Linked DNA regions of Homo sapiens: regions 1, 2 and 3 are each linked to region 4. Evidence: promoter capture Hi-C in 16 types of primary human blood cells and fetal thymus (Javierre and others, 2016). All regions are on one chromosome and are shown on one strand. The core of a region is centred on a gene start or on the middle of the fragment in contact, and the rest is flanking DNA. Distances in the headings are between cores, read along the strand shown.

Region 1 (5,770 bases), core at 2,052-4,551, 3.6 Mb after region 4:
CCAGGCCAGCTGTGCCGAGAACAGCCTCTCCCAGGAGGGTGGCAGGAGACACTGTATAAAGGGTGAGGGCTCAGTCAGGCCAGTGGTGATTACTACTGTGGCTAGGACTGTACACCACTCACCTGATGGCAGCAGAGGAAAAGCTGAGGTCCCCACCTATTAAGGGAGGCTCTGTGAACAGCAAGTCATCTTCCCCAACCACAGGCCTTGTTATTTTATTCTAAAACCAATCCTAAAACGCGCTTTTTACTCAACGAGTCTGCAAGCTTCAGTTCATTCCATGCTTTCATCTCCCTGAATAGTTCCCATAGATTCCTACCCTTTAGAGTGTGGTCTCGGTGCTCTATCCTTCCACCTGTCACACTCGTCCTTCAGCATGAACATCAGTCTCTTGTGAGTCAGAACCACAAACTCTAGATAGATTCACCTTTTGCTTTCTTCCATGAGGTAACTCATAATGACACTTTAGAATTCCTTTGCATTTCACAGGACATGCAAGGTATCCTTTTCTATATTTTTGGCCATCATTTCATCGTTGTCCTTCCATTTTTTAATAATGTTTTACATAAGTTTAGAGACGATGCCTATAACCAAAATACACTTTACTGTGTTGCGTCACTGGCCCATCTCTGCCCATTCACAGAGGTCTTGCGTGGCTCTTCACTCCAACATACCAGTGCCCTCTCTGTGGGGGAGGTGGGAAGAAGCCCAGGCTTGCATACCATGCAGACCTGCATCTGGGCACCAGTGCCTTTATTTTCTAGTAGCGCCTTGGGCAAGACGCTTGAATCACTTAATGCTTAATTTTTCTCTCTTCAAAATGAGTTATAGTCCAGGATTGCGAGACTGCAGGTCAAGCCCCCAGTGCAGCAGTGCTGACTGAGGCAGCTGCGCTGCCAGTCCTGCCTTGTCTTTCAACTGCCGTCAGATGAAACAGCGAGTAAACAGCTCATCAGATGCTCCACTCTTCATAGAATGCAACTTCTAAGAATACTCCAGGTGACAGAAATCCCGCTTCCACACTGCAGCCTCCCTCCAGGCCAGTTCTGGAACACCTCAAGAAAGCACGAACCTGAGCGTACTACTGCGCAGGACTGGCTTCCCTATGAAATCCTCAACACTCCGCAACCCCACAGCTATCAACTTTGTCCTGCGGTGGCTGTCAAAGCACCCCACCACATCTGAATCTAATCTCTTTAGGAAAACAAAGCAAAAGGCCCTGCACCAACATATTTGAACCATGTTTGTAGAATGAGTTGCTAGGTTCCATCCCCCGCATGTTAGCGACGTCTTGTTCACTGAACACTGTTAGGAGTAAAGTGCCCAGATGTCAGCCGTGAATTCACATTTCCAACTGCAGCACCTCTTGCCAGGTCACGTCAGACTGTCAAGGCTTCAGTTTTCTGTCTACAAAACAGGAGTAATATCACTCATTTCAAGGGTCAGCTCTGGGAACTAAAGGAGCAAACTCGTGCAGAGAGCTAAGCCAAAAGAGCCCCACACACGAGCCACAATGGTGCTCGTGACCAGGAAGACTGTTGAGAGAAGGAAGTGACCGTCTGCACCATCATTAACCTGCGTGCAAAAATGCTGAGACCTATCACCTGCATGCTGGACTGGAGACACTCCAGGTCATAACAGTTGCTCCATGTTGCTCTGTGCTGCGCTCTGCTATGAACCTATTTTATGCTTCATGTGCTATTAAAACAGCGGCTTTTTGAAAAGGATTTGCATTGGAAACTCAAACAATTTCTAGAGCTTTCACAGTGATAACTTGCTGAGTAACACAGCTTTTACTGTTGTATGAGTTTCAATTTATTTCAGCAACAGTTACTGAATCAAACACTGTTTCAAATAGAGCCTAAAGTTACTGCAGTTCAGAGCTGTCTAAATACATGGCCATTTAAATTTTAATTAAAAGTAAATAAAATTAAAATTCAGCTCCTCAGTTGCATTTGTCACATTTCAAGTGCTCAAAAGTCACATATGGCCAGTGGCTACTGTATTAGTGCAAAAATAGAATTATTCCATCTCCACAGGAAGTTCTACTGGACAGTGCTGTTCTAGTTGCCTACTTAATGTTCCCTGGCCCTTAATTTTGTTTTCCTTCACTATACACAGAACACTATGTTAGAAGCTGCAAAGAGTTCAGAAAACACTTCATCCACTCCTTCTACTATGTGCAAGAAATAAAAAAACCTTAACCAACTTTAAATGAGTTACACGGAGCAGCACATACAGCCCTGAGCAAATACATCAAGAGTACCCTTGCCTCTGGGGAGATGAGATTCTTATTTAAAGCTGTAGAACAGTGCTGATGTACCTTCAGAACAGTTAAAAAAAAAAAAAAAAAAAAACTAACAAATGCAAAACTAGAACAGACATTATTCATCATTAAGGCATTGTTAAAATGTTTTAAAAATAGAAAGGTATCTTTCAATTCACAACACCCCTCTAGCCCCCCACTCCCAAGACTCAGAATATTCAGTCTTTAGCAGTTTTCACTTTGGTCTGAAAGTGGAAGTTGTATTTTCAAAAACCAAGAAAAAGGCTTTTCCTGTCCAGCTGGCAAGAAGGACTTAATTTTTGGTTTCAATTTCCTTAAAGAGAGGAGAAAAGGGCAGCGGTGGCCTTTTTAATCTCTCGCATGACAACTCACAGAGTGCTTCCAAGTCTTTCATGTACTCTCTGAGGTGGGTGCCACAGGCTCTGCTTCACAGGGGGGGAAACTGAGGCTCAAGTTAGAAACCATGGCGAAACCAGCTAAAGCCAGACCTGTGAGTGTGTGACATGGGCTGATGGAGCTAGGCTCTCAAGAGCCAAGCACGTGGCTCCCGAAGCTGAGAAATGGACTCCACCGAGCAGGTCTGATGCAGAAACATCAAAATACATTCGACTTTTCATTTCCCTTAAACTACTACATCCTAGCCATTCCTTCAGATCGACAGGATTCCAGAAATGTTACAATGATCTGAAATCTCTTTCAAACGGAAAGACAGAAATCACCTAACACCCACATCCTAGCACTTGGGAAACTAACTCCAATCTGAAGCCACAGGAGAGCCTAACTGGTTATGCACGGCAGCTGATTTAGGAAAGAAAAGGATCACAAGCCCACAACAAAAAGGCATGTTGTTGATAATCAAAGACATTCTCTGCCAACAGGGACCCTCAGAGCTGCTCCCATCTCGCCCACCCTGTCAGCCAAGAGATGGATAAACTTCTGCAGAGATCCACCCCGCCCGGGCCCAGATGTGGCCCACCCCCTGGCTCACTGCCAGCAAATGCAGTGCACACCACCAGAGTCCAGGACACCAGGGACAGGCTCATAGGGCACTCTCTAGTGGCCCAATGGTGGACAACTCACCTCCATACTTCTCCAGGCTTTCTAACTTTTCATAGTTAGGTATTAATTTTTATAATAAGAAACAAAGAGCAGTTAAAACTAAATGGTGATGTTTTTCAAATACAGTATAGAATTTTCTTGAATGTTTTCTGCTTTTGCATTCTACATTGTAAAACAGAACACTAGTTTAGCCACTCTCCAGGAAGGAAAGCAGATAAACTGCAACAGACTTTATTTTTTAAAATTCTAAGACAAACAACAAAAGTTTCCCTTAGCATTTGGTTTATGAATACTCCGAAGACTTGCCATCCCCCACCTGCTCTCCTGAGTTGGCAGATCCTCCTCCTGCTCTTCTTTCTTGGGAGATACTTACTTAGTGGCTACCGTGTGCTTGGCACTAAGAATGCGGGCTACAATACAGCCCCTCCTTCCCTGAGGAGACTCAGGAGGGCAGTGGGATCAACTTAGTAATAGCAGCAACTCCACAAGAGCCAAACACTCAGGGGGCTCAGGAAGGGACAGAGGGAAGAACCGTGTGGGAGTTTTCTTGTGCCTCCTAAAGGAGGCACAGTGCTCTGAAGCCAAGGTTCTGGGGAAGCCAACATTGCTACGAACCTGGGCTTGCAGGACAAGTGTTCCCCACATCTTCTGCAAAGCAAAGATAGACTGCTATCAACTTAAGAGAACTGGGTTCCAGAGGTGACTCTTGGGTAAGTCATCAACCCCCACCTGCATAGGAAAGACCCCTTTCCTAAACTAGCCAATGCAGGACACCTCGTGAACAGGACTTTTCAATCACTGTATTTTCATATATTCACACGGCTTTCCTGCAAACTTTTATTTATTTATTTATTTATTTATTTATTTATTTATTTATTTATTTTGAGACAGAGTCTCGCTCTGTCACCAGGCTAGAGTGCTGTGGTGCGATCTCGGCTCACTGCAACCTCCAACTCTCCAGTTCAAAGGATTCTCCTGCCTCTGCCTCCCGAGTAGTCCTGCAAACTTTTCTTAAATGACATATTTTAAAGAATGTTCATCTGAGTGCAGCACAGAAAGGTTCTCCTGGTTATAGTGGCTGCCTGAGTTCAGTAGTAACCACCAAGCCAGAGGACGGAACTGGCAATCTGCAAGAGTCATTGCGATGGGCTGGAGTCCAGTCAGGGGAAAAGTGTTGGACAAGAAGAACCACAACCTGCTCATCAACGGATTCTATGCCAGGGGAAGTCTACCCACAGAAGAACCTCCTCCCCTCAAGGTCCTACACCCTACTCCTTGGAACCTGTGGCTCTGATGAGGTTATCACACCATGATCATGTTGTACTACTACATGACCTTCAGGTAGGCAGGTTATCTGCAGGAGCCTGACTCAATAACACAAGCCCATAGAAACAGGGGGCTTCCTCCAGCTGGCGGAAAACATCAGAGAAATTCAAAGTACCTTGCTTTGCAGATGGAATGCAGGTGGCCTTAAGAAGCTGACAGCGCCCTACCCAATTCCCCTGCTGGCAGCTAGCAAGCAATCAAGGACTTCCATCCTGCAAGGAACTGAATTCTGACAATAACAGGAATGTGCTGGTAAGAGGACCCTGAGTGCCAGCTGAGAACACAGCTGGCCAACACCTTGACTTCAGCCTTGCAAAAGCCTAAGCAGAGAACCCAGCCCCGCCATCCCTGATCTGACACACAAAATCCTTAAGACCATAAGTGAGTGTTCTTCTAAGCCTCTGAGTTTATGTTAATTTGCTACACAGCAACAGAGAACTACCACAACATAGAAATCTCAAAAATAGGATGCTGACGAGTGTGCATCCCCAGTGTTGGGAGAAAAGGCATCCTGGCCACCTCACTCAGGCACATGTTCCCAACAGGTCAGGTAACTTGGACACCTGTCAGCGCTGACTGAGACCACCTGCCTGCCCTCCCTGAGGTGCTTCTCAAGGCAGGTTCAGAGTGGCAGCTTTCGAAGAGGGCGAGGCTTGCCATCCAATTCACTGCAGAGAAGACAAAGCACTGACAAGCCAGCCACACCTCCTAGAAAGGGCCTCTTCATGGCAGCACTGCGGCTTCTTCAATCTTCTGCAAGTCTGGGTGGTCTGACTCTGCCACCCCTCTGTACCTTTAGTCCAAATTCTGGTTGCATCCTCAAAAATCAAGTTTCTGAATTTGAATATCAAGGTTTGCTGTTTTTTTTTCTTAACCTTTACTCCACAACTACAAAATCAGATCCTAAACCATATGACCTAACTGAGGCATAAAAAGTTCTTATTTTCCAAGGATAACTATTAACTCTTCTTCCACAGGACGCTTACATGAATCCATTTAAAATGAGGACAAAATCTCATATTAAATAGTGACCAAAGAACGTTTGAGACTTTACCTTGAGACACAAATCTTAGAACTTTTTACTTTAAAATATTTACT
Region 2 (5,863 bases), core at 2,578-5,077, 4.9 Mb after region 4:
CAAACAGTTCTATTTTTCCTGAGAATAAAGCCCAAATACTGGTACTGCTGGACCAGACTTATGCATTTCAGAGGTTTACACTGAAAAAGGTAAAGGATATAAACTGTCAATTCACAGATTAAGAATTTGGAATAGTCAATAGACATTTTTTAAAAAACGTATTCCACCTTTTTCATATCAGGAAATGCAAAACTAAAATAACAAAAATTTACTTTTCATCCACTAGGCTAGACTAAAATAAACATATTGGTAAGGATGTAAGGAAAATACAATTCATACTATGGGTGGTAGTATTTGAAGAGCATTTTGGCAGCATATAATGAAATCAAAACACACACAGTGATAATTTTTTCTATTTTTCCTCTACGCATTCCTGAAGGATGTTTTCTACATCCTGGTTAGCTTTTACACCCTAGCTTAATTTGTTTTTACCACTAGCATGAGTACTATCTTTATGTTGCTGTTTTTGCTATATTACATTTCCTAATTGGTTCTTAAGGGTATGCAAAAATATTACTAATTTTTGTTTGTTGATTACAGTAAGACCAGCTCATTTTACAACAATGTCACTTATAAACATACACACAAAAGATCTAAATAAAATATATGCAAAGTAAATCCAGCAGTGAATAATTTATCTGCAGATTCTCTTGGGTGTGTTATGTGAATAGTTGTAACATTCACTGATAATTTTATCCTACCTTTACTCATGCCTACATTTCATTTGCCCTCCTTCCTGAACTGACTAAGGCTTCAGCACAATATTGAATAGTAAGGGTAATAACAGGTGTCTTTGTCTTAAAAGTTGGAATTAGTTAATTAAATTTGCTCTGTTCCAGGTTATTGGTTGATATCCTTTAATCATGTTATGAAACTTCTACACACAGTCTGCTAAAAGATTTTCATGTATAGGTATCAATCTTCATCAAATAAATTTCTGTATTTAGTTTGAATATGTATTTTTCTCCCTTTATTTATTAATTTCAGTGAACTACAATAGATTTTCTAATGATAAAGCAGCCTTACATTCCTGGGGATAAAAGTAATTGAACACTATGTTAACATTATTTAAACACACTGAGGATTCAATTCCCCAATATCCTACTTAGGTTTTTTTTTTTCATCTATGTTCATAAGTGATATGCCTATACCATTTTTGCACTAAAATTACTAGGATGCCTTTCCCTTGCTAAAAACTGTAAGGAGGGAGTAAACTAGGAACACCTCTCATGCATGAATAAGACTTTGCTAGGTACAGAATTGTTGGGTCACCATCTGTTAAGCGTTAAATCATGACCTGTCCCACAAAAGACATGCTTAAGTCCTAACTCCCAGTATTTTAGAATGACCTTATTTAGAAATAGGGTCTTTACAGATATGATCAGGTTAAGATGAGGTCATACTGGACTAGAGTGGGCCCTAATCCAGATTTCTGGGCAGAGAGGGTGGATGCATGCATTTGCTTTTATTTCCCTCCCTAAAACCAGCTAAAAATACAGTCAAAAACTTTTTTTTCAAAAGGCAAAACCAACAAGGATGACAAGAGGATAAAAGACAAACGGAAACTGGAAAGCAGACTCAAGAGTACTGATTTAGCACCCAAGAAAGCCAGCAGTGGGGAAAAGTGAGAACCAGCTCCATTTATACTGCAAAACTTCAACAAGCTTGAGAATCAGTAACATGGATTCTTTTGAGAAGGTGAAGGGGAATGGAACTAAAACAAGCACTAGTTGCAAACTTTCTCATAAGCATTTAATCCCAATCCCCAACCATCCACCATGCCTCAGAGAAATCACTCCTCCCCCATCCAGCAGAAAGAGGTTTGCTTTTTGAAGGTCTCTGTAACACCAGGGACCCTTGGGGCAGGTGTACTATGTCAAAAGCATAAAGATTAAATAAACCTAAGCACAGTGGTCTAAGACTGGCTGCCTGTCTCTCTTCATTAGGCTTCCAAACAGTGTAGTCCTTCTGTCTTCCAGGAAGAAGAAGGGAAATACCTTCTTACAGATAATATCTAAAGGTAATGACACTAGACATTCTTCAATCAATAAATGGCCCAACCAGACTGTCCTGCCTTGACACTCAGGGTCCAGAAGCCCCACATCCTCAGTGTATCTGCTACTCGCTCTTTGCAAGGACTTCCAAACATGAGACAGACCTGCAGTGTGAAAGAGGCTAAAACAAGCAAAAGCAACCTGAAGTAAACAAAAACTGAAAAGAAAACTTAAAAAATGTTTATTAATAGGATGAGATAAATAATATTATATTTGCGAAACAAGTTATTTTTGAAAGGAATATTCAGAGCTCTTAAAATTGAAAAAACTTAAAAATTAAAAATGAACACTCTAGAATAACTAAAATTAAAAGACAGACAATAGCAAGTGTTGATGATGATGTGGAGAAACTGAATACATTCCTCATACATTGCTGGTGGGAATATAAAATGGGGCAGCTGCTGAGCAAACTAGTTTTGCAGTTCCTCAAAATGTTAAATAGTTACCCAACGATCCAACAGTCCCATTCCTAGGTATGAACTGAAAATAGAGTCCACGGCAAACTTACACACTGATATTTATAGCAGCACTATTTCAAACTAGCCAAAAAGTGAACATAAATTAAATGTCCATCAAAGGATGAACTGATTCACAAAATGTCACATATCCATACAACAGGAATTATTTGACAATGAAAATGAACGAATGATACATGCTACAACATGGACCAACCTTGAAACATTATGCTAAGTGAAAAAAGCCAGTTACAAAAGTCCACGTGTATTCTAGAGTCCATTCATATGAATTTTCCTTAACAGAGCCAAAAGTAATCCAGTGGCTGCCAGAGACTGGAGGAAGAGTACAGAGACAGGAAATGACTAGTAACTAGTATAGGGTTTCTTTGGGGAAGGTGGAGGATGAAAATGTTTTAGGACTATGTAGTGGTGATGTCTGCACAACTCTGTGAATTGAACTGAATTGTATACAATAAAAGGCAGAATTTTATATGTAAATTATATTTCAATAATGCTGTTATAGCTAACAAAGACTCAAAATATTTGACCATAAAGTTAAAAAAAAAGGATGCAGAAAATAAAAACCCAGACACGAGAAAGAAGGAAAATAAATAAAAACAAATAGGGTATCAACACAAGAGGCCCCACATACCCAACAATAAGAGTTCCACATAAAGAATAAGGCGAAGATGGAGACCTAATTAAAAAAAAAATACTGGTATTCAAGAAAAGTTCCCAGAAGCAAATCTAGAAATTTCTAATTGAAAGGGCCTGGAATATGGACTTCAATAGGATTCAAACCATGAAACAAGAACACAAAATTTCAGACCACTGGAGACAAAGCAAAGACCCTACCAGAATCCCAAGAGCAAAATAAAAGGCATCAAGTGATACACAAAGAATCGGGGATAGAATGGCTTCAGACTTCAACACCAACACGAAAAACTAGACCTAGAAAGCAAGCCTTCGAAATGGCAAAGGGCAAGTAATTCCAAGATAAAATTCTACACAATAAATATTTTCAAATCTGCAAAGTCTCTACAAACTTACTTCCCAGACATTCTTTCTCAGGGGGTACTGAAAGATGTGAACATGGTCCTTCGGAATGGAGATGGGGGTGAAGAGAGCCCTCAGAATGCTGCTGCGTACCAGATGACAGTAGGCCCCAAAGCTCGAAGGGAGAAGAAAATGAAAGACTGAAAACATTCGAGTATTTATACCAAACTGGCAGAGACTTGCAAGGGAATGCAGTTATTTTTGGACATGCATTTAAACTATTATTTTTTCTAAAATAAAAGTGATTCTTCCTCTTTTTTCTCCCATTCTCTTTTGAGTTCTTTGGTACCCTAGCTCATCTTTCCCATGCTTCTAGATGTCATTTTGAGTTGCCAAGTACTTAGGCAGAGACCCCGAAGAAACCTCAGGCTCCAGAGTCACAGAGTCAGATTCACATTCCTATTCCACCCCCACTTTCTGCTAAGTGACCTTGGGCAAATTTATTTAACCTCTCCCCTGCCTCGAAACTATTTCATCAGTTTTACAGATGGAGAAACTGAAGCAAAAAGAGTTTAAATAACTGGCATACTATCAGGATTAAATAAGATGCACCATATAAAGTGTTCAATCCAGTCCCTGGCATAGCAGTAAGCACTCACTAATATCTTCAGGATGAAAAATTGAATTAAAGATACAATCATTATCAGGGAAAACAAGAAACCATGCAGAAAACACCACAGCTTAGCTTCAAATAACAGTCCTAATAATGTCAACTTCAAATACTGATCTAACTGAAATCATAACTATACTGAACAAATGGAGAAAGAAGAGATATGCTTAGGCATGGTGGAGTATGGGGCAGTAAGAGAGCTGAATCCTCACCTCCCAAAGTCAGCAATGAGTCTACTATTTAACAACAGGAAAATTCATTGTAAAATACACAGTGGAAGCAATTAAAAATGGTTCTGTCTTGGAAAGCAGGGATGAGTGGGGCTGGGGGCTGCTGACTTGTTGTCTTAACAACTCTTGTATATCTGTCTAGCTGCCTTTTTATATTTAACTGTGATTAAACAAAAAACAAGATCACAAAACAGTATAATGAGAAAACAAAAGATTTCTCAGTTATCCGATAGCATTCTAGTCTCTGACTAACATTATTTCCCAAGGCCCTGCTGCATATCAGCTCAAATCTGGTCAGATACTGTATTATCTGTGGTCAGATATTGTAATACTCTGATAAAACATTTTTTTTTCCTCCAATCAGATTCAGATGTCATTTATGTTGGCTGAAACCAAGGCCTCTAAATAATGAACCTCGCAATTGTGAAAGTGAGCAGGGTGTGCCTGGGTGAAGGGCGATCAGGCTCCTCTGACCCACATTCATTCCTGCACAGGTCCAGCTGCTATGGAAGAAGTGAGGTTCAAGGTGTTCTTCCTCTCCAGGAGATACTAAGGGTTGTTTCCTCGATTATCGCTTTCTCTTAGCAGCCCTGCTCTCCTCTTCTAGAGCTTCTATTATATAGTCTATTGGAAAGTTCAGGCTTATTTTCAATTCTCTCCTCTTTTCTCTCATAACTACCATCTTTTCTTTGCCTTCTGGGTGATTTCTTAAGCTATACTAATTCACTAACACAATTCCCAGAGCAGCCCACTCTCTTACTCAAGACTTTTTGTTTCCCATTTACTTCTCCCCTCTACCAGACAATTTTAACTTTATCCATACAATACCCTCCTGAATTGTCACTGTGAATGCTGATGCCCATGCTTCCTTCCTTTCTTGGGGAAGTAGAATCACACCTGGCTGAGCACACAGGGCAAGGAGCAAGCTAGCAGGCATACCAGCTGAGAGGACATGACAGAAGACATGGCCAGTGTAGCCAGGAAAATGGTTATGCTAAGGTAGTAAGTATATAGATAATATAGCAAACAAATAAATACAGATGATAATGGGATATGTAGTCTGCTCAAACAAATCAGTAAATATGTAAGAGAAGACAGTTTCTTAACTTCAGCACTACTGACATCTTGGGCTAGAAGGAAGACGGGATGTTCGGCAGAATCCCTGGCCTCTACCAGCTGGCTGTAGCACTCCCCAAGCTCCAAGGTGTGTGTGCAGCAAACAATTAACCCAGCAGGCCTGAGAACACGATCCTTAGCAAGACCTGCTTGCAAGGTGGGCCATTGGCTGTCACCTGAGGACTCGGATTTCTGGAGAGTTCCTTCCCATCATTCCCCAAACTGATGAAAATGGCTCATCATGTATGGTTTATGCTCAACACCTGCTTTCCTTGTGGGGGTCTGGAATCTTGGTGCTTGCTAGGCAGAGGGTGCCTACAAGACCAGCCCCCAGTAAAAAAA
Region 3 (5,852 bases), core at 2,541-5,040, 3.6 Mb after region 4:
ACTGGAAGGGGGAGAATGGGGGATGAATTATGCTAACCTCTACTTCTGTTATCACATGACATCCTCCCCTGTGTATCTCTCTATGCCTTCTCTTCTTGTAAGGACATCAGTCATTGGATTTGGGGCCCACTCTAAATCCAGGATGATTTCATCTGAAGATTCTTAACTGATTATACCTCCAAAGACCCTATTTCCAAATAAGGTCTTGTTCTGACATTCTGGGTGGACACTAGGAGGTTGCATAGTCTCCTCCCAAAATTCACCCAGAATTTTGGGAAGACCACTTTGCAACCTACTACAGAGGCTTAAATAAAACAAGAAAGTTATTTTGCTCCCGTAATAAGAAATCCAGCAAGAAAGGGCCATTGGCATGGTGGCCCAGTGTCCCAGGATGTCCGAGCTGACCTGTCTGACATTCCCCTGGCCTTCACCTAAAGGCTGCTCTGGGTCCATCCCTCATGTCCACAGGAAGGAGGTGGGGGAAGAAGGACAGTGTCTGCTGTCTGTGACCCTTTGTATCAGAAAAGCAAACTTTTTCCAAGAAACCTCACGTTAGATTTGTCCTCAAATCTTGTTGATTAGAGCTAGTTATAAGGCCACCCCAACTGCGAGAGAGTCTGAGAAATTAAGACACATGATGAGACACAGAATGATCATGAATGACCTAAACCAATCGTGAGCCATTGTTTGTGCTTGACTTATGACCATGTTGAAAAAAACTGGGTCTGTTAGTAAAGAAGCAGGAAGTGGGTCTCATGTCCTGCCAGTGTCTGCCACCTGCAATCTCTTCTGAATTCAGTCCATACGAGTCTGTTTCTGAGAGCCTGCAAAGACCCTGTTTCCAAACAAGGTCTTGTTCTGAGATTCTGGGTGAACGTGAATTTTGGGAGGACACTTTTTGGCCTGCTACAGAGGCTTGAATGTTCTGACGAAATCTAGTTTTTGACCTTGAATAGAGTAGCCCCACCAAGAGAATACAACCCACAAGAAATGCCTCTTCTTTCCAACCACTCTAGAGCAGGATTGTCAACCAGAGCTGACTGTGTCTCCCAGGGCACATGTGGCCACGTCTGGAGACGCTTTGGATTGTCACGACTAGGGGTAGTTGCTGGGCCCCAGCGTCAAGCACATACAGGTGACAAATTCCGTCTCTGAGTGAGGGCCCAAAGAAGCTCTCAGCTCAATAAACGGAGATGTGTGTGATGTACACACATGTGCAGGGTACTAGTGGGAGACAGGGCAAGGGAACCTAGAGGTGTTGCTGGACTGATCCTAGAAGATGCAGAGTATTAGCCTAACAGAGGAAGGACATTCCAGGATGAGAAATGTCTGGAGACACAGCCCTGAGGACAGAAATTCCCCAGGGCTCTCAGTGGCCAGGGGCCAAGCATGGCAGCAGAAATCCAATGTGAGGCTGTTGGCCAAAGCCAGGCACAGGAAGGGTGTGCCATGGTCAGCACTTTTGGGGGTACCATTAAAAGATGTACCCCAAAGAGGGGTATGGTCTAACATGCGTTTTAAGAAAAGTTCACTTTGTCTTAACAGATGGAATTATGAGAGGCCAAGATTGAAGATGGAGGTAAAGGTTGGGGGGATGGCCTTTTGAGAGAAATAGAAAATCAGTAATGGGCACAGTATTAGGTATGCAAAGGATTATTTAGGAGAAAATAAATTAGGGTCAGTTATTGTAGTTGCTATAAGAAGCGATCTCAAATCAGAGTGGCATCACATGTTAAGAGTTTATTTCTTATTCACTTCCCAGTCCACTGTGGGCCTGCATGGGGCCTGGGGTATGGGGAAGGAGAACTCTGCTCCACACAGTCATTCAGGAATCCTGGCTCTTTCAGGCAGAAGTTCTGCCATTCCCTTGGGCCCTGGAGTTTTCAGCTAGTTCTCTGCAGAGGGCCAGCAAAGGGGTGAGGGGAAGAAATAGGATGGAGCATCCTGCAGGAGGTTTAGGGTCCAGGTCTGGGGGGTGGCCAGCACATCACTCACATGCATATTTTGGTGGCCAGAACTCAGACATGTGGCCCCATCTAACTTGAGGGAGGCTGGACTATATAGTCCAGCTGAGAGCCCAGAACAAAAAGGAACTGGGTCTGGCAAACACAGCACACTGACTTTGCCACAACATGTTTCGGAGGTAAAATCTTTGGGGGCTCAGTAATTGATTCAACGTGGAAGAAGGAGAGAGGAAAGTTCAGAGAGCTTCCAGGTTTCCACCAGGGAGGTCGGAACAGGTTGCCTTAGATGGTGACCGCAGGAGCCACTGCCTGAGCAAGGAAGATGGTGCATTCATTTTAAAATCGCTGTGTAGCTTAACATTCACTGCCCGTATTAACATGTGTCCTGCATTCCATTTATTGGAGAAATGTTTCTTTTTCTTTATTTTTTAAATGAATATAATTTACAATGTAAAAGGTCAAATAAAATGAAAGTGAAACAGAAAAATCCTCACTTTTCAATATTCCTTTCTCATCTAATGAAGACCCCTTCCCTTCTCTATTTCTCCCGGCTCCCTGCCTTAGGCCTAAAGCAACAACCAGAAGCCTTCCTGGGTGTTTACATTACAGCACACCAGACTGCAGGCACCGCCACCCCAGACTCTGCCTGCAGCTAAAGTCACCAAGTTTGCCGTGCCCCATAACTGAGGTCATTGGCAGCCCAGCACCAAGCCTCACTGGCATCAAGGGCAGCGGGTTAGTAAGCATGGCTCCACACGGGTAAGCAGTTCTAGGAAATGGGAAGAAACCCAGACCATCCATCTCAGGGTAAGTTTGCTGGATTTTCTCTCTCTTTTAAGAGTCTTTCAACAGGGCATACAGCCCATTCTCAAATTTAGATTTCTGTTTTTGTTAAGAACAGGGACTGTGGAACGAATTTGCCTGACTTTGCCATCATTCTGCCATTTCCTAGCTATGTGGCCTCAGGCAAACTGATTAAACTTACTGGCCTCAGAATGGGGAAAATTTCTGTAACTCATGCCTGGAATTACGTGAAGATGAAAAGCAGGCATGTCCATGAGATGCTTACAAGAGGGACCAGCGCCGTGTACCTATTCTGTGCATCCTACCCGTCCACTGTTCCTTCTCCGTGTTTCTTGAAGAAGCTGGAGTTTTCTTTCAGTCTTCTGCTTCTCCTGTTGCTTCCTCTAACTGAAGGAAGAATCAGTCCATGGCTTCTGCTCCATGCTTTCTGCTCTTGGTTCAGGCTCCAACTTTCCCATTAATGGAAGAGAATGGCTCTCCTGCTCCCAGCTGTAATGAACTAATTAATTTTTCTATCTCTCTAATCATTCTCTATTCCCTGCCAAACCCTCTGGGTGTCTGTTTTGTTCTATTGTTCAAGCCTGGACTTTGAGGGTAGGCTGGGGGCATTGCTAGTCCCCACAATTGCTAATCCAGGCACTTGAGTCATTATCTTCTATACATCACACTTAACAACCAGAGGGAAGTGCAACCTCGTGGGCCTCGGAAAGGAAACCACCCACAGACTTGTGCGCCTTCTTCGCAGGCCAGGCTCTCCTTCCCCCATGGTAAGAAGGTGAAGACTTGGAGATTGGTGAGTCAGGCAATCAAGGTCAAATTGACATACTCTAGAAGATTACATGCCGTGTGGAACAGTACTGGGCAGTGGACCCACTGGGACAGGGGCTCAGGAGGCTATGGCAGTCCCGCAGGAGATTCTGGAGGTAAGGGGTTGAATGGGGAGCAGCGTTGATTTGGATGCAGCATGGATTTTGAAGTAGAGCCAGCCATGGGGAGCTAGTGGGGAGGGAGGCAAAGAGTGAACAAAGCATCCGTTCGGGTCGGTGGCCTCAGCCATGGATGAAAGTCTTATTTCCTGAGATGGGGGACACTGGGTGGAGCAGGAAGCATCCCTCTTTAGGAAATGCTAGGTTGGAGATGTCCCTCGTACATCCCCAGGAGACAGTTGGACACAGAGGCTTGCATTTAGAAGAGAAGCCAGTCTGGAAAGGGCCGTCACGGAGCAAGCCCTGCCTGGCTGGCATGTAGCAGAGCTGCATGGGGTGAGCTCACCCGGGCGGGGACGGGTGTGGAAAGCGCAGAGAAGCAGGGTAAGAGCAGCCTGAGGGTGTGGGGGGAGGTGGATGGAGACGTGGGCTTGTCATTTGTCTTTGAGAATTCGCTGCATGGCATTTTAAACCTCTTTAAATTTCTGAGTAGGTTTGAGGTGTGTGTTGTAAGTTTTCAAGGCCCTATTCAATAAAATATCTGGGTAATTACTACACTCAGGAAACTGGCGCAAGTCCACTGAGGCCTAAAAATAGCAAGTTTACAGACCTGTGGATTCTTTTCTCATGACAGTGAGGCCTCACAGGCCCTGCCAGGCAGCCCGGGAGGTGCAGGCCCCCCTTAGAGACACAGACAGAGGCTGGACACAGAGCCTGGCTGGCCGAGACCTTTCCAGTGAATTCTGTGCCACCAGAAGGACAGGCATAGGCGATGGCTGGTGCCCTCACGAGGTCACCAGTGGGCTGTTTGTTGAGAAAAATGCTGCTTGTAATTTTACTTTCCTTCTGAATTTTAGCCGTTTTCTTCTGAATTTTAGCCATTACACGGATGATGGCTAAAATCACAAAGGGCACAGAAGCACAAAGGCCAGGGGCAAGGGTGGGGAGAAGCATGGGACAGCCACATTCTAAACATGGTGGTGGCATCCTTGAAAACGAGTGAATGACCGAGGCAATCCATTTCCGAGGTTTTAATCACATACATAATCATTGGTTGTGAAAAAGTGTTTCAACACCAGCGAAGACATGACCACAAAACCAATGTTTAGGGAAAAACACAGAAGACATTATTCACAGCTGTTGTCTATTCATTTACTTCTTTGAATTGGAAGAGTGGTTTTAGCTGTGAAATGCCTCCATGCAGCTGGGAAAACGTGGTCTCTTCCATAGGAGTATTTGAGGACCTCAACCCTGGGTCCGGACTCTGGTTTACAATTGTAGTTCAAGATGTTGGTATTGGAAGGAGGGGCCAGGAGAACAAATCCTCCTACACAAAGAGGCTTGCAGGAGATGTGTTACTGCCAGGGGGCTGTCCACAGTGTACTTACTTCTCCTTGAAGACACCTTGAGAAAGGACAGCGCATACTGGTAGTGATCTTGGCAACCTGTCTTAGGCCAGGCACAGAGGCTGAGATGGGGGGTCACTTTTTTCTTTTTTTATTTTTTTTGTTTGTTTGTTTGTTTTGAGACAGAGTCGCACTCTGTCACCCAGGCTGGAGTGCAGTGGCGCAATCTCAGCTCACTGCAACCCTGCCTCCCGGGTTCAAGTGATTTTCCTGCCTCAGCCTCCTGAGTAGCTGGGATTACAGGTGCATACCACCACTCCTGACTAATTTTTTTTGTATTTTTAGTAGAGACGGGGTTTCACCATGCTGGCCAGGCTGGTCTCAAAACTCCTGACCCCAGGTAATCTGCCCACCTCAGCCTCCCAAAGTGCTGGGATTACAGGCGTGAGCCACTGCGCCCGGCCTCTTCTTTCTTTTTTTTTTTTTTTTTTTTAATAGAGATGGGGTCTTCCTATGTTTCCCAGGAGTTGGAGACCAGCCTGGACAACATAGGAAGACCCCGTCTCTATTAAAAAAAGAAAAAAAAAATTGTCAGGTGTGATGGTGCACGCCTATGATCCCAGGCTCAGGAGGCTGCAGTGGGAGAATCATTTGGGCCCAGGAGGTCAAGGCTGCGGTGAGTTATGATGGCGCCACTGCACTCCAGCCTGGGCAACAGAATAAGGCCCTGTCTGGAAAAAGAGAGGGGACGGGGAGGGGAGGAAGGAGGGGGGGAAGGGGAAGGGGAGTGAGAGGGGAAGGGGAGAGGGAGG
Region 4 (5,676 bases), core at 232-2,731:
CATAATGAAAGGGAAATTACTTGCAATCAGAATGCCTAGGTTCAAATCTGCCTCTTACTACCTGTGTAAAGCTTCGACAAGCTATTAAAATAACGAAGCCTACATTTCCACATCTATAAAAGATAATACCTACCTATTCCACAGGCTTTTTACGAAGATGGAACGCGAATGTACATCAAGTGCCACATGTTATAGTTGAGGTATTTATTAAAGGCAAGACTTCTTTAAAAAAAAATAAGTCGTTATCAACTCATTACATAGATAATATCAAACTTTTTTCACTCATTATTGCACTCCATGACGGCGTTTGATAATTCATTTTCGTTTAAAATCGCCAAAATCGCAACCCATAAGGTTGAAAGACGCTCATACCCCCATAAATATACCTAAAGTAGAAAAGCATTTGCACGATAACCGGAACATCAAAAAAAGCAAAATTTAGTAATTTCCTCTATAAACTCACCACTCATTTAAAAACACAGCTGGTTAAAAATAATCTACTACCTTCAGTGGGTAAGAAAATGCGTTTGAAGAGACATAAGGTGTGGACGTTTATATCTTAAGTATTCATTTTACAAGGGTCAGTTTGTTCAATGTAACCGTATCCAAAACACAAGCAATCGCAAAACAAAACAAACAGAACCCTGCTTATAGGTGTCAAGGATTTAAAACCAAATGGATCGCAACAAAAGAGCCTCCCCGTTTAGTAAACAGATTCTCGAGCGGCAGGCAAGCCGAGGACCAGGCTTTTCAACAGGGGTCAGCTCACTCCACTCGGCCGTCATCTGGCGGGGTATTTTTCGCGAAGTTTCAAAGTCAACAAAGAAGTTCTGTCGCGAGGGGGTAGGGCCTGGCGAGCAATAGGCAGAAGGACGTAAAGAAAGACAAAACCCAGTGGGGGAAGGGTGCGGAAAACGCCCCCGGACGGCAGCGACAGAGGCCCCCTTTTCTGGGCCAGCGCGCGACGGCGGGGACAAGGGAGGCCACGCCGGCCTGCAGTAGCCCCGAGGCCCCGACCCCGGCCCCGGCCCCTGCCCGGCAGGGTCCCCGCCCCCCTCGGCGGCGCGGGCGGGAAACGGCGGGGGGCGCGCAGAGGGTCACCTTCCGCTCCCCGGCCCAGAGGCCCAGCGGGTGGACAAACGGCCCAGGCGTCCGCCCCGCCGCGATCCAGCAGCCCACCTCGAGCGCCGCGGACCTGGCCGGGGTACGAACCCGGGCGCCGACGCAAGGGCTCGGGCGCCGCGCGTCGCCGACTTACCTTCCTCCGCGGTGTCCATCTTGTCTGGGGGGGCGGCGGTGACGCAGCCACGAGGCTCCCGCGGCCGGGCGGGGAAAGAGGGAGGGGAGAGGAGGAGGGAGCCGGGCCCGGGCAGGTGCGTACGCTCAGGTGCGAGAGAGGAAGCGAGAGGAAGGAGAGGGGAGAGGGAGAGGGAGAGAGGCTGACAGAAAGCGAGCGACACGGGAGGGGGAGGGGCGGGAACACCTAGGGGCGAGGCCTGGGCGGGGCGCCGAGGCGGAAGGGGCGGGAGCTCCCCAACGACAGGCGCTGTCACTTCCGGCGGCCGCGGCGTGCACTGTCGGTCGGCGGCTAAGGAGGGGAGGCACCTGCATCTGGGGCGCGGCGAATCCTCGCGTGCGCCAGGCCGCCTGGGGTAGTCGCCGAGACTGCGCCGGCCAGCGGGGCCGAAACCTAATCAGGAGCTGAGCTTTGATGGCGGCTTCTGGAGGGACAAAGAAGGCGCAGAGCGGTGGGAGGAGGCTGCGAGAACCTAGCTCCCGCCCCAGCCGACGTGCGAGACAAAGGCCCCGGCGCGGGGCTCTTCGGAAGGCCGGGAGGTTCCTGTGACAATGCGAGTCTGCGCCCCACGCTCCCGCACCGTGATGCCGAGGCCAAATGGCTAGAGTGGGCCCAGGCATCAGCATTTCTGTTTGGCAGCCGGGCAGTTGTGGTGCACGTTTTGAGGAACTACTAAAGCCTGCCTGTGATGAAAAAGGCAAAAGCTGACTTCACCAAAATTACTCCCAGGGAGACTTCTGCATTTGGCTGGAAGGACATTTGAGTAAACCGCTGAGGCTGGTGGTTGAAACATAATCCTCTAAGGGAGATCGGTTCCGATACCCTGAGTTAGGGACGCTTGCCTGGGCAGAGCTAAGGGGAGAATGATCAAAAGCCAAGCTCTGTCCCCGTCAGCACGTCACCCTCCCTCACTGTAATCCCTGACTGTTTTCTCTAAATGAAGAATTATTTAGAGAATATAAATTAGAAGGGCCGCCACGTCAGAATTGCCTGAGTGGGAGCAGTCTTTCCAGCCTCGAAAAATGTTTAAACAATATGCAGATGACCTAGCACAAATAAAGAATGCTAGCAACCGCTGTTATGTGTGAGCGGTGGAATTGGGAGGGCTCTTCCCCCAATCTTCATCAAACAGAGTAAGGTTTAGAATAAAAATAATGAAATACAGTCTTTCAAAAAGAGCAGCGCTTGACTAATGTTACTGATGTCACTCATGTTACTCAAGGGAGGAAAGAACTCAAACTCTACATAATAATACCCACTGATTTCAAGGGCTGGCACGGAGAATTAAGCAGACCGCCATTCTTTATATTTGTTTTTTTGTTGTTGTTTGCTTATGATTTTTTTCTTTCTTTTTTTTTTTTTTTTTTTGAGAAGGGGTCTCGCACTGTCACCCAGGCAGGAATGCAGTGGCGCGATAATGGCTCACTGCAATCTCACTATATTGACCAGTATGATTTTCAACTCCTGTCTTTAAGCGATCCTCACGCTTCGGCCTCCCAAAGTGCTGGGGTTACAGACATGTGCCACTATGCCCTGCCTAAATATGTTTATATATACTACCGCCAAAGAAACAATTTGAAGACGATCTTTCCCCAGCCCCTCTCCTTCTGATCCAACTCCAAGAGCTCACCCTCCCTGTAAGACCTGTAGCAGAGCACGTATTGGCCTGCTGATACTAGGGGCAAAGACCGGGCCGATCAGATGTTACATGGCATAAGGGCGAAGGATTCTGAAAGAAAGACTGAGACTTGCTGGAGGAAGTACTAGTAGTGCCAAGGGCAGGTATGTGACCCTCGGAGCTGCAGAGCCAGGTTAGGATGAAGGGAATGTGTGTGTATGGGGGGCGTGGAGGAAGCCTTCCTTTTGTATTTAGGTGCCTTCCCTTGTGATGTTCAAAGGAAAGTTAACCTGTCAACCAGTTTTCCCTTCTGCATAGTAATTCCTTCTGGAATTGCCCTAACCTTTTCGCATTCAGACTTTAGGCGTTAAATATAAGAGTAATAAACCAACATTTGTTGAGTCCCCACTGTGAGTCAGGCACAAGTTCTCACAACAGCCCTTTGAATACATGAATCAGTCACACCTCTCTTGGTTGCCATTGACAGGAACTCAACTGTTAGGCAGAAGGGAGGAATGTACTGTTGATATGGACAGACTCCAAGAAGGGGAGGGACTGCTGGGACTACTAGAACGAGAATGCCTCTGCCCCTATGGCTCAGCTCTGCAACTCTCTCTGCACATTGGCTTCATGCTGTTAGACCAGCTTCCTCCATATGTCTGGAAACAAGGCCACTGACAGCTCCCAACATTTCATCTTCTGCCTCATCATCAGACAGGCGAGGTAAGGATGATGATCTCTAGTCCCAAGTTAAAAATTCTCAGGGAAGGCTAGTTCATTGGTCCAGCTAGTTGCCTGTCCGTGAATCAAATGATTGTGCCAAAGATCTAGGATCTTTAAGAACATGGACATTGTCATGTTCTTGTAACTGCCATTTCAGGTAAGAACAATGTACACTACCTTGTGGAAGTAGAGAAAGACCGTTTCCCACAAGAAGGGGGAGGACCAAACAATAGATATCCATTACAATTAGAATTCTCATTGTCCAATCAAGAAAAATACTTTTTTTTTTTTTGAAACATTGTTACCGAGGCTGGAGTGCAGTGGCATGATCTTGGCTCATTGCAACAGTCCACCACCCTGGCTTAAGTGATCCTCCCACCTCAGCTTCCCGAGTATCAAGTAGCTGGGACTACAGGCATATGACGCCCAGCTAATTTTTGTGGTTTGTTTTTTTGTTTGTTTGTTTTTGGTATAGATGGGGTTTCACCATGTTGCCCAGGCTGGTCTTGAACTCCTGGGCTCAAGCAATCCGCCCACCATGGCCGCCCAAAGTGCTGGGATTGCAGGTGTGAGCCACTGTGCCTGGCCAAGAAAGATCCTTTATTAAAGACATAGTATACCCATGATTCCAGCCTCGTGTGTGTGTGTGTGTGTGTGTGTGTGTGTGTGTGTACTGTGCTGCGAGAATGCTATAGCAATGCTGGCTTTCCATACCCCAATAAGCAATGAGTAAGAGGGGAAGTGTAGGGGGACACAGTGTAACTGTAACAAACTAACAATGACAACTAACCAAACTCCTTATTATGTCCAATGAACATCCATAGCAATCCTGTGAAGTAAATATTACACACTTTTTTTTTTTTTTGAGACAGAGTCTTGCTGTGTTGCCCAGGCTGGAGTGCAGTGGCGTGATCTCAGCTCATTGCAACCTCTGCCTCCTGGGTTCTAGCAATTCTCTGCCTCAGCCTCCTGAGTAGCTGGGATTACAGGTGCCCACCACCATGCTTGGCTAATTTTTGTATTTTTAGTAGAGATGGGGTTTCACTATCTTGGCCAGGCTGGTCTTGAACTCCTAACCTCGTGATCCACCCGCCTCGGCCTCCCAAAGTGCTGGGATTACAGGCATGAGCCACTGCACCCAGTCCAATTTTTTAAAAAATATATTCTTGGGACAGTTGAAATTGAAAAATTGAAACTTATATAGATTCTGTGAACGGTCTTGTAGCGATGTTAACTTCTTGATTTGGAAGATCCTTGTTTGGGGAAATACCCACTATAGCATTTAGGGGTAACGTGGACTCAGGTCTGAAGCTTGTTCCCAAATGGTTCAGAAAAAGACTAATTGTGTGTGGGGTCAGGGCAGAGTTAACATTGGCGAATCTGGGTGACGACAATGTGGAGATTGTCTTGCACTCTACTTGGAACTTTTCTGTGAGTTTGAAATCATTCTAAAATCATTTTTTAATTAAAATTACTAGGTACTGATAGAACTCTAAAGCAATAGTTATCAAATTTGAGGGTGTCTCTATCACTGGCACCTTTAACAATCTGATAACATCTATGGATTTTGTTCCCAGAAAAAATTGGTTAAACACAAAACATTGCATGAAATTTCAGGGGGGTATATAGATGCCTTGAACTCCATGCATGAATCCTAGGTTAAAAGAACCTCTCATTTAAAGTACTGAGAAAAGTGGTGATGTTCGCTTCCCTTTCTAAGACTATGGCAGACTGGGTTTTTTAGACCAACAATTGGAAATTCTATATAAAATATAGAAAACAGATTCCTAAAAGCACTGAACGCCTGACAAAAATAGTAAGGTAACTACCAGGCCAAAAATTTTTTTTTTTTTTTTTTTGAGACAGAGTCTCCCTCACTCTGCTGCCAAGGCTGGAGTGGTGTGATCTCTGCTCACTGCAACTTCTGCCTTCTGGGTTCAAGCAATTCTCCCGCCTCAGCCTCCTGAGTGGCTGGGATTACAGGCATGTGCCACCACTCCTGACTAATCTTTGAATTTTTGTGGAGACAGGGTTTCAC

What was found. The method cuts DNA at HindIII sites, captures the fragments that hold promoters and counts their contacts. A CHiCAGO score of 5 or more calls a contact.
Region 1: a contact is called between a fragment that was not itself captured here and the fragment with the promoter of MARCHF6 in region 4, in 3 of 17 cell types (non-activated CD4 T cells, naive B cells and naive CD8 T cells). The highest score is 11.2, in non-activated CD4 T cells.
Region 2: a contact is called between a fragment that was not itself captured here and the fragment with the promoter of MARCHF6 in region 4, in 1 of 17 cell types (activated CD4 T cells). The highest score is 6.5, in activated CD4 T cells.
Region 3: a fragment that was not itself captured here is called in contact with the fragment with the promoter of MARCHF6 in region 4 in 3 of 17 cell types (total CD4 T cells, activated CD4 T cells and non-activated CD4 T cells); the score reaches 7.3 in total CD4 T cells.

Annotation. Positions count from the first base shown.
Region 1 is chr5:6,719,135-6,724,904 of GRCh38, reverse strand. All of the region lies in intron 1 of TENT4A (terminal nucleotidyltransferase 4A), which reads right to left. Among named protein-coding and RNA genes, the nearest start is that of TENT4A, 8.6 kb to the right of the region's middle. RefSeq lists an enhancer at 3,176-3,225. The HindIII fragment of the contact is 6,065 bases long and covers 269-5,770 here.
Region 2 is chr5:5,429,196-5,435,058 of GRCh38, reverse strand. All of the region lies in intron 1 of ICE1 (interactor of little elongation complex ELL subunit 1), which reads right to left. Among named protein-coding and RNA genes, the nearest start is that of ICE1, 9.4 kb to the right of the region's middle. The HindIII fragment of the contact is 4,322 bases long and covers 1,667-5,863 here.
Region 3 is chr5:6,702,947-6,708,798 of GRCh38, reverse strand. LINC02102 (long intergenic non-protein coding RNA 2102) reads left to right here and starts at 1,088. Exons shown (of 3, transcript NR_103771.1): 1 at 1,088-3,691. The HindIII fragment of the contact is 8,406 bases long and covers 1-5,852 here.
Region 4 is chr5:10,349,500-10,355,175 of GRCh38, reverse strand. It overlaps MARCHF6 (membrane associated ring-CH-type finger 6), which reads right to left and starts at 1,481. Exons shown (of 26, transcript NM_005885.4): 1 at 1,259-1,481. The coding sequence starts at 1,277. MARCHF6-DT (MARCHF6 divergent transcript) reads left to right here and starts at 1,119. Exons shown (of 3, transcript NR_183261.1): 1 at 1,119-1,204; 2 at 3,403-3,638. RefSeq lists enhancers at 245-816, 1,663-1,922 and silencers at 873-1,342, 1,383-1,522. The HindIII fragment of the contact is 4,878 bases long and covers 74-4,951 here.